Regions from separate parts of the Homo sapiens genome. Here region 1 is linked to region 2. The links are contacts of gene promoters, found by promoter capture Hi-C in human tissues and cell types (Jung and others, 2019). All regions are on one chromosome and are shown on one strand. Each heading gives the region's core, a stretch centred on a gene start or on the middle of the fragment in contact. The rest is flanking DNA. Distances are from core to core; before and after follow the strand shown. Region 1 overlaps SGSM2 (small G protein signaling modulator 2). Region 2 holds the start of CLUH (CLUH binding protein of NUMT mRNA).

Region 1 (6,740 bases), core at 388-2,887, 330 kb before region 2:
TGAGGAGCAGAGTGTGTATGATTTTTGCCTCAGAAACTATACTCTTCTGTGTAACAGACCAATAAACAACATTTGTCAACACTGGAGCCTCTGGGACTGGACACTGAGAGACCACGTGCCTTCTTTAAGCTCCACAGTCGGCCAGCCCCAAAAGGCGAGGACGGCAAAAAACTAAAGTTTCCAAGAGAGGTACTCCAGCCGCCAGTCTGGAGGGTGTGGGCTGGTCAGGAAGTCAGGGTGATTTGATAGCCAAACCTCAAGTACTCAGCGCCCTTGAGGGGACCTCACCCCAGAGTCATGGCCCCATCTCACGATGACCAGTGGCCCCTCTAGCCTGTGGATGAGAGAAGGTCCCTGTCCCATCCCTACCCCCTGCCTGCCCTACTGACCAGGCTGCAATGAGAAGCTGGAGCTTGACTATGCCACTGCAGCTGATGGCAACGGAGCTGCCCCTGTGGGTGTGGCTCTCACCCCGAGCACTGTCTGAGAGGCCGGAGGGGAGTGTCAGGAGGAGTCAGACCCTGCTGAGCTATAGACAGGCCCAGCTGTAACGGGTCTGCACCTCTCTTCCTGCCCTTCCCCAACCCGAGTGCTACTGGTCCCATCGTCGATGGCTCCAGGGAGAAGACACCAGTCACACAACATGTCTTCTACCCTAGAGGACACTGGCTTCCTGGACATTAGGGCCTGTTTTCCACTCACTCAAAGCTGAAGACCCCAGCCCATGGTCCTAGCAGGCTGAACCCAGCTTTATTATACAGAGAGAGAGACAGACAGATAGACAGACACAGAGTCTTGCTATCTCTCCCAGAATGGAGTGCAATGGTATGATCATGGCTCACTGCAGCCTTGAACTCCTAGGCTCAAGCGATCCTCCCAACTCAGCCTCCCAAGTAGCCAGGGATGCAGGCCCCCATCATGGCAGTTTTTCTATCTTTTTGGTAGAGGCAGAGGCTCACTGTTGCTCAGGCTAGTCTTGAACTCTGGCCTCAAGCAGTCCACCCACTTGGCCTCCCGAAGTGCTGGGATTACAGGCTTGAGCCACTGCATCTGGCCCTGAACCCAGCTTTTAGGAAAGAGTGCAAACTAGTGGCCAGAGCTACCCAAAGAAACCAGTTGGTGCAGAGAGAGCTCTGGGGCCAGGGAACTTGATGAGCCCTTCAGGGGAACACCCCCGACCCGCCAGCCGACTCTGTTGCCTGGAGGAGTCAGAATTCCTTTGCTGTGACCACCTAAAGGAAATTTCACCTAGCCTGGGAGTAACCCTTCACACACTTCCGTCCTGCCCTACTCCCCCTGACTACTGGACTGGGATCCTGGGACCAGAGGGGATCCCACAGCTTTTCAAAACGATGGGACAGCTGGGGCGGGAAGAGCAAGCAGCACAGTGGGCTCTCCAAACACCATCTCAAGGAACCTTTGCAATCTGGAAAGTCAGGTCTTCCTCTTACAGAGCAGGAGCTGGTAAATGGAAGCACCTGGATTCATACTTTATCCTGACCACAGGCCCCTTTCTTATAAGCTCCAGCTGAGCCATGGGTGAGTGAGAACTGTGGGTGAGGGGGAGCTTTGAGTACAGCTTCTGCCTAAAGATTTAGTGACAGCCCTCAGATGACAGCCAAGTTATCACTGCCTGGGGAGGGTCTTCATCTGTGTTCCCAGTGGGCACAGGGCCTGGCACTGAGCATGCACCCAGGAAGGGTTAACCCTCACCCTATCCCTTCCCTAAAGCGTCGCTTAGTGAGCTAATGGAAGTGACCCAGCTCTTCCAGGAGCTACCAGCAGAGGGAGCCCGCGTCTCACAAGTAAAAAGGGCAGGCTCAGTAGGGAGGGCTGGATTCCGAACTTTCATTTTAATTAAAAAAATTTTTTTTGAGACAGAGTCTCGCTCTGTCTCCCAGGCTGGAGTGCAGTGGCGCAATCTCGGCTCACTGCAGCCTCCACCCCCCGGGTTCAAGTGATTCTCCTGCCTCAGCCTCCTGAGTAGCTGGGATCATAGGCATGCACCACCATGCCCGGCTCATTTTTGTATTTTTAGTAGAGAAGGGTTTTTGCCATGTTGGCCAGGCTGGTCTCGAACTCCAGACCTCAGGTGATCTGCCCACCTAAGCCTCCCGAAGTGCTGGGATTACAGGCGTGTGCCACCGTGCCCGGCCTGAACTTTTTGAAGTCAACTCTTCTCTTTCAGAAAACAGGACCCAAGACAGCACTCCCTTCCTCAAGGATAACCCCTACCCACCCCACCTCAGGAAGAGACGCAGAGTCAGTCTCCCCTGTGGGGACTGGGAGTCAGTCAGGTACTGTCAGGGTGGAAATGAGAAGCTGGGCCCCCTTGCCCAGCCTGGTCTCCAGCAAGGCCTAGCTAGTGGCTCCCTGACCTCACTTCCCACACCACCTCCTCCCATGACAGCCTGCCCAGGGAGAGAAGACACAGCCACAGGGACAAGGGGCTTCCAGCCCAGCTGAGAACACGGCTCTTTGCCCCTGACCTCCAGCCTCTTCTTCCCCTTGTTCCTTTCCCTTAGAGGACAGCTTTATGGACTCCCCGGCTGACCTGTTGTAACTGCACCCCCAGAGCAGCCCCTCAGGAAGCTCTCACCCTCTGTGCCCAATCCCTGGGGCAACTCCCCTGTACCTTTTTTATTGGATCCGAGTCTAGGACTGGCCCCAGGTGCCACAAGGGTGGCAGATGCTGGGTAAGAACTCTGTACCCAGTTCAGAGGTCTGACTGCAGCTCCAACGAAGTCTCCAGCTAGCCGTGTGGCCTCAACAAGTCACTGGGCCACCTCAATCCTGTTTCCTTATCTGCCAAAATGGGGCTAAGTCTGGCTTATTTACTTCACTTGGCTGTTGAAAGATGAAACAAGATAATGCTTGTAAAATGGTCTGAGGAAATACGAAGCTTTGCAAAAGTTTCAGACCGACCAGAACTGCCATTTTCAGAGCGGCGGAGGCACCGGGTCAGAGCCGCTTGAGGACTATGCTGGGCAGACAGGGTCGAGACAGGTGATCTCACCGCTCCTGCCACATGCTTCCCTACAGGCCTCAGCCTCCTTTTGCAATAAAATGACCCAGATGCTGCAGGCTGGCAGCTCCATCTCAGGTTTCAGTGCAGGTTTATTTCAGTTTTATATTTTATTCCAGGCAAGTGCTTATTACATGGATAGTATTCATGTCTCGGTAACTAAAGTCTTGGAGCATGAACAGCCACTAGAATACAGTTCAATAGTAAAAATACAGTATGTACAAAATTAGGGTTTTTGTAGTTTTTTTTTTTTTCCACACAGCAGATGTATCCAAACACATAAAAATCTCTACAGTCTGGGGTCGCTACAGTTTATATTTCAGGAAACAGAGACACAGTGGCCGAGTCCTCACTGTAAACAAGGGCCACCTCTGGGGGTTGGGGGTGGGACCCTGGGATGGGGGGAGAAGCAGCTGTTTCTGGAGAGAGAAGGGGTCATGGTGGCCCCCCAGTTACCCTCCAGGCATTCCCTGCCTTCTTTGGCCCCCCAAGGAACCAACCTCCCCCTCTCCCCGAGGTAAGGACTCCCAGCCAGTGAGCCACTCTGAACATCAAAAGGTAAAACACGCATGAGAGGTAAGATGTGTGCGTGTGCGTGCGTGTGTGTGTGTGTGTGTGTGTGTGTGTGTCCCAGGCTGGAAGGGCTAGGGAGGGAGGGCCAGGCGGTCCCACAGGGTGAGGACAGATGTGGTCCCGACAGCACTCTGGGGGAGACGCCCAAGGAAGGGCTGGGTGGTGACTGCCCACTTGGGCACACAGCATCACAGCGTTCACAAACGACAAGAAAAACAGCAACACCCATCGTCACCAATCTGGACATAGTCATTCGGCACTAGATTTGCAGGCCCCCGATGCTGGGGGACAGGGACGGGGAGGGGCAGCGGGTGGATGATGAGGTATCTGTGCAGGCCCGGGGGCCACTGGCCTCAGGATGCAGGGAGAGGTGGGCAGGCTGAGGGGAGGGGCGAGCTCCACGAGGCTGCTCTAACTGCCCCGTGGGTCAGGCCTGCCATCGCTGTCACAATGGGAATAGCAAAGCTGGCTCTCCCAGAGCCACGGGGTCTGGCGGAGGTGGCTGTGCTGGGGTGGGTACAGGGCTCAGCCTCTGAGGATGGTGACCTGGTTTGTAACTGTCCCTTTACCCACACCAGGAGAGAGAAATAAGGAACAGTCCCCTGGGAGGTGTCCAGGACCAGGAGGGAACAGGAAGGGAATTTTTAGGCATCTAAGGATTCTTTATTTCCAGAGAAAATCTATTCAAGACCTTTGCTGACCTCCTCTGTGCCTGCAGGGCACTCCAGGAAATCCTCAGCTCTGTCCCCTCCCCCCGGCCCCCTCGCCGGCCCAGGCCCCTGCCCCAGCCCATCAGTGTGAGCTTCACATCCAGGGACACCGGCTTCCTCCCGCTACACTGAAAGGCCACTGGTGAGTGTGTGTCCAGGTGGGGAGCCGAGCGTGTCTGACACAAAGCCACTTGTAATAAACACCCACATACAAGGAAAGGCCAAAGCAGGCTGCCCAGAGGCAGAGAAAGCCGCATCCTAACACAGAGCCCCTGACTCCTCCCCCTTCCACGCTCAGCCCTGTCCTTGACCCAACCAAGGACCTCTTCTCAGAGAAAGGTGCTGCTGCTCTGCAGCTCCCCGGGCAGGGCCCACTCAAAAGCGTCCCCGGGAGAAGCAGGGTGTTGAGGGGATGGGAGGACAGAGGCAAAGGGGCTGGAGCAGAAGCAGCAGCCCTAGCTCTGGCCCTCTGTTCTGTATAGGTCCCAGGGTTGGTCTGGGGACAGGCTTAGGGCTTGGCTAAGCCGCTGGGTTTTTACCTTCCTGATGTCTCAACGATGTGGCTTCTATGCTCCTGGAAACAAGACCAGATGCTGGTCCATGTCTCCCAAACTGCAGGAGGCACCCAAACCCACAGGCCGCCAGGCCCACCTGTCCCTTGGAGCAGTGCCCAGCACTCAGCAGAGGTCAGAGATCAGGGGCTGAACGCAGGACAGCGCCCCTCTTTGCTGCCTTCTGGAAGCCAAGAGCCAAGCCCAGGGCTGGGGACTGGGGACTGGGGACAGGGGCCCAGTGGCTCTCCTCCCATCCAGACCCAGGCTGCAGGGGACGGGGAAGGGGAAGGACAGCCAAGTCCCTCCTTCCCCACCTCAGCCTGCCCTCCTGAGGTCCAGAGCCCAGTGGCAGGGATTGGGGTGAGGGCACAGGAAGCTTGGCAGTGGCTGGGTTTGGTTTATTGTTGGTAGAGAATCATTTTAAGTAGTATCTACGGTAACGAATCACAGTGACTGCAACCGGGTCAGAGAGCCCCAGGCTGAGGCCCCACCTGTCCGGGTGGGACTCCAGACCAGCCACTTCCTATGATCTGTCACCTGTGCTCAGAGCAAGGCCCCTTATCACCCCAATCCGCAGCTTTCTGGGCCAAGTGGCTTCAGTTCTGCTTTCCCCATTTCCCCTCCAAAGGCCTGGGAAGAGAACATGAGGCTCCGGAGGAAAGCCGGGGGCCTGGGCCACCTCACCAGACAGCAATAGCAGCAGCAGCACACGAAGGCGGGGCAGGGCGGGGGAGAAGTCAGGGAGCGTGACGTCCACATCGCACTGATTTCCGAGGGTAGGGAGGGGAAGCAGGAGCGGCACTGGAGCTGGCACTGGGCCGGACAGGTGGCACATTCCATCAGAGTCTCGCATTTTCTCAGAGTCATCTTACCAAGTCCTAGTGCAGCAGGGTGGCCCTTCCCTCCCTTGGCTCAGAGTCTTTGCACCCCCTTCCCCTAGGAGGCCTGGGGGTGGGTGGGGGGGCTGGCCTGGGCCTGGCTGGAATGTGTGGAGCTGGTGGGTGAGAGAGTGGGGGACAGGTCCCCCTCCCTGTCCCCACTGGGGGCCTCTGAGTGGCCTCGTCCTCAAGCCAGCTTGAGTGTGCTGACTGGGAAGGAGGGCATGGTGACCATGGTCACAGGGTTGAGCACGGTCTGGCCCACCAGCTGGGGGTGGTGCACCACCTGAGCCCCCACGGCCGGCTTTGCCATGACAGTAGCCGGGGGCCCCAGGCCGGCCGTGCCGTTGACTTGCTGGTGCGAGAGGGTGTGGGCGATGTGGCTCACTGCCACGGGCTGCGGGTACAAGGGCAGCTGGGAGCCCAGGTGGGCCACATGGTTGAGGGTGGCAGGGTGCACAGTGATGTGCCCAATGGGGGGTGTGGCAGGCGCCAGTTGCACCGCAGGGCTGGGGGCCGAGGGGGCGATGTGGGCGATGTGCTTGCCGCCTGGCCCCTGCAGAACGTGGTTCACAGTCTGGATGACTGAAGCGTGAGTGGTGGCTGTGTGGGCGATGACCGTGGAGCCACCCCCAGCCGTCGCCACCAGATGGGCTGGAGCTGGCACCAGTGTCTGGGCAGGGGCAGCCGGTGGGGGAGGAGGGGCTGGCAGAGGGGTCTTCTGCTGTGGCTGCTGCTGCTGCACGGGGAGGTGGGCAGGAGGTAGGGCCACGGAGTGGGGGTGAGGGTGTGGGTGTGGAGGCAGAGGCGCAGGGGTGGTGCTGGGGGGTGGCAGGGTGGACTTCAGCAGCTCCGGCTGGGGACGATGGCTCAGCTTAGGTGGGCCCAGGCCCGCCCGGTCCTCCTCCATATCCTCGTCTATGTTGTCCTCACCCTCTGTGGGGAACATGGGGCAGGGAGCAGGTCAGAAGGGCGGGGAAGCAAGTGGCTGGAGGCGTAG
Region 2 (7,146 bases), core at 83-2,582:
GATTCCCAAGTCAGCCCTGGCGCACTCACTGAAGCTAGGAAGGGAGATGATGAGGCGTTAAGACCACAAGTCCCAACTGAGGACAGTCGACGGAGGAGGGAGGGACTGGGGGACAGGAGTAGCTCTGCACCTCCACTGCCACCCAGAGCAAAGAGGGCCTGAGGAAGATGACGACTGAGGGCCTGGGAAGGGGATTCCAGCCCCAAGGCTGGAGTCTGAGACACGGTGGAGGGAACAGAAGGAAGAGAAGGGGCTCAGGAGAAAGGGAAAGCAGGCCCCACCCGAGACAAGCTGCAGCCACTGCCACAGTCACCACCATACAGCCCCCATGGGGGATCGCTGGGAGCTTGACTCCACACTAACGACCTTTGCCTTAAAAACAGCAACTCTGGTCTGACCCACTTTTCGCAATAAGGCAGGTTAATGATCAAGTTCTGGCACAAACACTTCCCCCTGCCAAGGAGTTTGGCTCTGCCCCATGCAAAGGCAGACGCCCCCTACACCAGGTCGGCCGAGCAGGCCAACACACCTGAGAGTCTCCGCCACAGCCTGAAGACCTGCGGTTATAGCCTGGCCTCAGGGCATGAACCAGGGACGCCCCTCACAACGCACACCCCGCACCTCGTGCTCTTCCCACAAACCAAGCCTGGGAAGCCTCGAGCGGAGCTTCACTCCCAGGGCTGCAGCCCTGCGCACAGGGGATGCCTGGGAGGCCGCCGCGGAGCAGGTGCCGAAGGGGGCTGTCCCGCAAACGTCGGAGCGACCCCAGCTCAGAGAGCTCCCATGCTCGGGCGCAGAGGGGGTGGGGCCGCCGATTCTTTCGGTCTGCGGCGGCGGCGCACCCCGAAACCGCGTGTGCGCGCACGTGTCCCCGCGATGAGGCGCGCGTGTGCCCGCCGAGGGTGCCAGCCGAGGCTGCCCTCCACGGGACCGCACGTGCGAAACCCGGGCCGCAGCCGGGGGCGACTGTGAAGGTGACCTTCAGCGCGGGGGCGACCCGGTGAAGGCCCCAGCGAGATACAACCGGGCCCGACGCGGAGGGAAGGCGGCGATCCCCGCGGAGTCCCGAACCCGCCCGCCCTGGTCCGGCGCCCCCCGCCCAGCGGCCCGCTGGCCCTGGCCCCGCTCACCGGCCGCGCCCGGCCGCCCCTTGCCCCCGGCCTGCGAGCCGTGTTCCCGGGCGCTGTCGGCCGGGGCGGCCGCCGGCAACTCGTCCGTCTTGATAACCATGGTGGCGGGAGCGGGCGTCCGCCTCGGCTGTCCGCGCCGCCCGCCGCGCCACTAACCCAAGTGCCCTGCGCGCCGCGGCTGCTGAGGGAAGGACGGAGTCACCGGCCCACGTGGTGCGCGCCGTGGCCTTTGACCCCGCCGCCGTTTCCCTGCCCCACCCTCGCGCCCGGCCCAGCCCACGGCGGCCCGCGAGGGACAAAACGCGCCGCGCCTGGTTCCCCGCCCACGGACGCGGTGACTTTCCAGAACGTCTTAAAGGCAACGCACTCTGACTCAAGGCCCAGGGAGGCTGGGCGCCCTCGCGGGGCGGGGCCTCGGGGAGACTCCCTGCTGCTCGCTGCCCGTCGGGCGGGCACTGTGACCTTGGGTGGAGACTGGTCTGGTTCTGCCATGGCTAATCCTCCCCTCTCCAAGGATCCCCTGTTTTCTCTTGCAGATTTGCTAAATGACCGCGCAGTCTGTCATCTGCGGTGTTCGCGTGACCCTCAGCGCCCTCCCCACCCGGCAGGCCCTTTCCCGCCGAATGGGTGCGGCTGGATTATTGAGGGAGTGGAGGGTCGCTTAGGGCACGGGCACGAGAGGCGAGGGCGAGACGTGGCTAATGGGGATCAAGAGTCAGAATGGACCCGCCAAACTTTGCCCCGAGCCAGAACGGGCTCCCTACCCGCGTCCTCGACCCATGGGTCCTCACCTCCAGGCTGGTGTCCTCATTTTACAGTGGAGGAGGCCGAGACCAAGGTCACACAGAGAGCAAGGGGTAGAGCCGGGTCTGACTCCATCCACAGCCAGGACGCTTTAACTCGTATTTTTCACTTGGCAGGGGCTTGGCGGGGACGGAACGGTGAGGTCAGAGAATGCTGCAGAGGGGACATTGGGACCAGGTCTTGCAGTGAGTTGAAGTGCTCCAGGCAGAGAGCGCCGGTGGGTCTTTCCTGGCCAGGCCGCAGGGGGCCTTTGGGAAGCACCCGAGGCCTATAACCTTCGGAGCGTTTGTCAAGCTCTAATGAGAACTGGAAAGCTTCAGCTTCCCGAGGTGGGCTGGGAGGGCCTTAGGTAGGGCCTCGCACAAATTGCGAAGGAAAGCCGACCTTGTTCTGGAGAGCACGTGGTGAGGAAAGCCAGCGACTTGATGTGAGCATTTAAACGGGAGGAAGGAAGATGAGAACTGGTAAGATTCTTCTCGGCCGGGCGGTGCAGCGGCTCACGCCTGTAATCCTAGCACTTTGGGAGGCCGAAGCCAGGCGGATGACTTGAGTTCAGGATTCGGAAGTTTGAGACCAACCTGGGCAACATTTCAAAACCCCCGTCTCTACAAAAAATATTGTTTAAAAAAAGCCAGGTGTAGTGGCACGCGCCTGTAGTCCCAGCTACTTGGGAGCTGAGCTGGGAGTATCACTCAGGACGGCTCAGATTGAGCCCAGGAGTTCCAAGCTGCAGTGAGCTATGATCGCACCACTGCACTCCTGCCTGGGTGACACAGACACCGTCTCAAAAAAAAAAAAAAAAAAAAAGCCGGGCGCGGTGGCTCACGCCTGTAATTCCAGCACTTTGGGAGGCAGAGGCGGGCGGATCACGAGGTCAGGAATTAGAGACCAGCCTGGCCAAGATGGTGAAACCCCGTCTCTACTAAAAATACAAAAATTAGCTGCGCATGGTGGTGTGCGCCTGTAGTCCCAGCTACTCGGGTGGCTGAGGCAGAAGAATCGCTTGAACCCAGGAGGTGGAGGTTGCGGTGAGCCGAGATCGCGCCATTGCACTCCAGCTTGGGCAACAAGAGAGAAACTCCGTCTCAAAAAAAGAAAAAAAAAGTGTGCATATATATATATAGTGTGTGTATATATATATAGTGTGTATATATAGTGTGTATATATATAGTGTGTGTATATATATAGTGTGTATATATATAAGTGTATATATAAAATATATATATTTATAATCAATATATATAAAAGTGTGTATATATGTGTGTATATATACACATACATACTTATGTGTGCGTGTGTATATACGTATGTGTATACACACACTCGTTCCTCTTTTGTTACACAAATGTGCAGAAAATTGTACCTGCTATTCTTCACTCTGATTTTTTTTTTACACGCTTTCAGTAGGTGTTCTCATTCCATTTACGCTGGATAATGTTGTATTGTTTGGTTGTACCATAATTCTTTTAGCCGGTCACCTGACTGATGGGTACTTAGTTTGTATTCATGAAACTCCAGGGTTTTTGAGAATTGTGCCTAGTGGCCCAGTGCAGCTGAAGTTGGAAGCCCGTGCATGTTGCTAATGCTACTCATAATAGGAAGCTCAGTTTTAACCCTGGGGGTTGGGGAAGAGCAGCAAGCCTGGGGTTAGAGAAACAGACACGTATAAAAAGCATCATCCAGCCGAGTGCGGCGGCTCACGCCTGTAATGCCAACACTTTGAGAGGCCGAGGAGAGCAGATTGTATGAGCTCAGGAGTTGGACACCAGCCTGGGCAATATGGCAAAACCTCATCTCTACAAAAAATACAAAAATTAGCTGGGTGTGGTGGTGTGCGCCTATAGTCCCTGCTACTCAGGAGGCTGAGGTAGGAGGATCACTTGAGCCCAAGAGGTTGAGGCTGCAGGATCTCGCCACTGCACTCCAGCCTGGGCGACAGAGCAAGACCCTGTCTCAAAAAAAAAAAGAAAGCAAAGAAAGAAAAGAAAAGAAAAAAAAATCATCCTCTGATCACATTCTCCATAGTCTGGTGGTCTGACCTCTGACCACACATTAAGCAGACTGATTCTTGCTTTCACACAGCTTCCACCAAAGTCTTTTCATCATAGTCTTTTTTTGGGACAGCATCTCGCTGTGTAGCTCACGTTGGAGAACAGTGGCAAGATCTCAGCTCATTGCAACCCCGCCTCCCGGGTTCAAGCGATTCTCCTGCCTCAGCCTCCCTTGTAGCTGGGACTACAGGCGCCCGCCACCATGCCCGACTAATTTTTGTATTTTTAGTAGAGAGGGGGTTTCACCATGTTGGCCAGGCTGGTCTTGAACTCCTGACCTCAGGTGACCTGCCCACCTTGGCCTCCCATAGTGCTGGGATTACAGGCGTGAGCCACCGCACCCGGCCTCCATCATAGTCTTAACAGCACATACTCCCATTTTCCCCAGCTATTTCCACCATTGCCTATAACAATGTGCTATGGTTAAGGTGATCGCATAGTTTATCATTAAAACCAGAACACTTTTGAGAGTGCAAGTGGAACCTATTAATAATGACACAGGGGCAATAGGCATAAATTGAGACCCTCTTGGCCATACTGGGATGTCTGGGTCTTGGGTGAGGAGTCCAGCTGCTAGACCCGGGGACTTTGTTATTTTTTATTTTTTTTTGATATGGAGTCTTGCTCTGTCGCCCAGGCTGGAGTGCAGTGACGTGATCTCAGCTCATTGCAACCTCTACCTCCCGGATTCAAGTGATTCCCTGCCTCAGCCTCCCAAGTAGTTGGGATTACAGGCATGCGTCACCATGCCCGGCTCATTTTTGTATTTTTAGTAGAGATGGGGTTTCACCATGTTGGTCAGGCTGGCCTCGAACTTCTGACCTCGTGATCCGCCCGCCTTGGCCTCCCAAAGTGCTGGGATTACAGGCATGAGCCACCGCGCCTGGCCGACCTGGGGACTTCTTGAAGGCAAGAACCATAACTTATTTATCTGGGTGTTCCCAGCATCTTTCCAGAGCCCAATGCATGGTAGGTGTTTAATGCACATTTATTTATTTTTAATTTTATTTTTAGAGACAGGGTCTCATTCTGTTGCCCAGGCTGGAGTGCAGTGGCATGATCACGGCTCACGGAAGCCTCCAACTTATGGGCTCAAGTGACCCTCCCGTCTCAGTTCCCTGAGTAGCTGGGATTACAGGTGCACACGACCATACCCCACTTAATGCACATTTGTTGACTGAGTGAATGATTTCAGTGTAGAAGGTGCCAGGCCCTGAGGGCTCCACAGGATGTGGGGGGGCAGCATTGCTGGCAGCCTGGGGTTTCACCTTTGAGCCCCCCATTATTTATTTATTTATTTATTTTTTGAGACGGAGTTTTGCTCTTGTTGCCCAGGTTGGAGTGCAATGGCTCAATCTTGGCTGACCACAACCTCTGCCTCCCAGGTTCAAGCAATTCTCCTGCCTCAGCCTCCCCAGTAGCTGGGATTACAGGCATGCGCCACCAGGCCTGGCAAATTTTGTATTTTTAGTAGAGATGGGTTTTAGTAGGGTTTTAGTAGAGTTTAGTAGGGTTTTAGTAGAGATGGGTTTAGTAGAGGTGGTTTCTCTATGTCGGTCAGGCTGGTCTCGAACACCCGACCTCAGGTGGTCTGCCGCCTTGGCCTCCCAAAGTGCTGGGATTACAGGCGTGAGCCACTGTGCCTGGCTGAGTCCCCCATTATTTATAACAGTTGGCTTTCCTTTCAGACACTCCTTTTGTGTACTGTATGCTTTGACCTTTGTGTCTAGAACTTCAGATCATTTCCATAATGCCTGACTGAGACCCACCAGCCTGAGCCCACGGAGGATGCCAAGCGGAGGCACCTCTCCCTATCCTCCTCAGGGTCAGTGAGCGTCCGTAAGTGCCTACCGGTCAGCATGGGGATCGGTGACCAGTTTGTCCATGGGCCTAGTGACGAACCAGTCCCAGCAGCTTTAGAATCTGCAGTTTAAGGCCGGGCGCAGTGGCTCACGCCTGTAATACCAGCACTTTGGGGGCCAAGGCAGGTGGATCACCTGAGGTCAGGAGTTCAAGACCAGCCTGGACAACATGGCAAAACCCTGTCTCTACTAAAACTACAAAAATTAACCTGGTGAGGTGGCGGGTGCCTGTAATCCCAGCTACTTGGGAGCTGAGGGAGGAGAATCACTTGAACCCAGGAGGCGGAGGTTGCAGTGAGCCAAGATCATGCCACTGCACTCTAGCCTAGGTGACAGAGCAAGACTCCGCCTCAAAAAACAAAAACAAACAAATAAAATAATCTGCAGTTTATCTTTGGTGGATCCCTTCCCCTTTCCCTCGCAGGGTCCTGTTGCACAGCAGGCGTCCTTAGGGCTACCTCATGGCACTCCTGAGCACTGCAGTTTTCCTATCTTTTGGGTCCCTGCATAAAGATAAGGAGGAGGGTTATCTAGTCTGAGACCCAGCCTGCATAATTAGCCCGCTCAAAGCCTCCCACCTCCCTAATTACTGTTATCATGGATACACCCACTCAGCAGGCCATTCCTACATTCCTATTTCCCCCTCCTTTGCACAGTTCCCTAGGGGGCTGGAGAGGTGATGTGGGAACCCAAATCCCTTCGACTGCGGCACAGAGTCCCCTACTTCCCTGGCCAATCTCTGGGAACCCCTAGAAAGGAAGTTCTCCACCTCCCTCAACCCCAAAACTGCATGGGCAGAACTGCCAGGAAGGAAGGGGTAACCGCCAGCAAGATGCCCTGAGCTTCAGTTTCCCCATGTGTAAAATGAAGGGGTTGCACAGATGATCTTTAAGAGTTATCTGAGGCTGGGCGCAGTGGCTCTCGCCTGTAATCCCAGCACTTGGGGAGACCCAGGTGGGCAGATCACTTGAGGTCAGAGGTTCGAGACCAGCCTGGCCAACATGGTGAAATCCTGGCTCTACTAAAATACAAAAAAAAAAAAAAAAAAAAAATCTGCTGGGCATGGGTGGTGTACACCTACAATCCCAGCTACTCGGGAGGCTGAGGTGGGAGGATCACTGGAGCCCGGAAGGAGGAGGTTGCAGTGAGCCGAGATTGCGCTGCTGCACTCCAGCCTGGGTGACAGTGAGACTCCCTCTCAAAAAAAAACAGCCGGGCGGTGGCTCACGCCTGTAATCCCAGCACTGTGGGAGGCTGAGGCGGGCGGATCATGAAGTCAGGAGATCGAGACTATCCTGG

Evidence for each region. Contacts are between HindIII fragments. The study calls those that stand out against the background at their distance.
Region 1: a contact is called between a fragment that was not itself captured here and the fragment with the promoter of CLUH in region 2, in 2 of the 25 tissues and cell types used here (dorsolateral prefrontal cortex and spleen).

Annotation. Positions count from the first base shown.
Region 1 is chr17:2,380,974-2,387,713 of GRCh38, forward strand. SGSM2 (small G protein signaling modulator 2) reads left to right here. Exons shown (of 24, transcript NM_014853.3): 24 at 1-81. MNT (MAX network transcriptional repressor) reads right to left here. Exons shown (of 6, transcript NM_020310.3): 6 at 3,100-6,676. The coding sequence ends at 5,928. Among named protein-coding and RNA genes, the nearest start is that of MNT, 17 kb to the right of the region's middle. RefSeq lists enhancers at 1,848-2,057, 5,010-5,834. The HindIII fragment of the contact is 4,866 bases long and covers 1-4,070 here.
Region 2 is chr17:2,710,432-2,717,577 of GRCh38, forward strand. CLUH (CLUH binding protein of NUMT mRNA) reads right to left here and starts at 1,333. Exons shown (of 26, transcript NM_001366661.1): 1 at 1,131-1,333. The coding sequence starts at 1,230. LOC105371592 (a long non-coding RNA gene) reads left to right here and starts at 1,878. Exons shown (of 2, transcript NR_136412.1): 1 at 1,878-1,968; 2 at 2,051-2,402. RefSeq lists enhancers at 806-1,702, 1,703-2,598 and silencers at 1,212-1,331, 1,462-1,641. The HindIII fragment of the contact is 23,363 bases long and covers 1-7,146 here.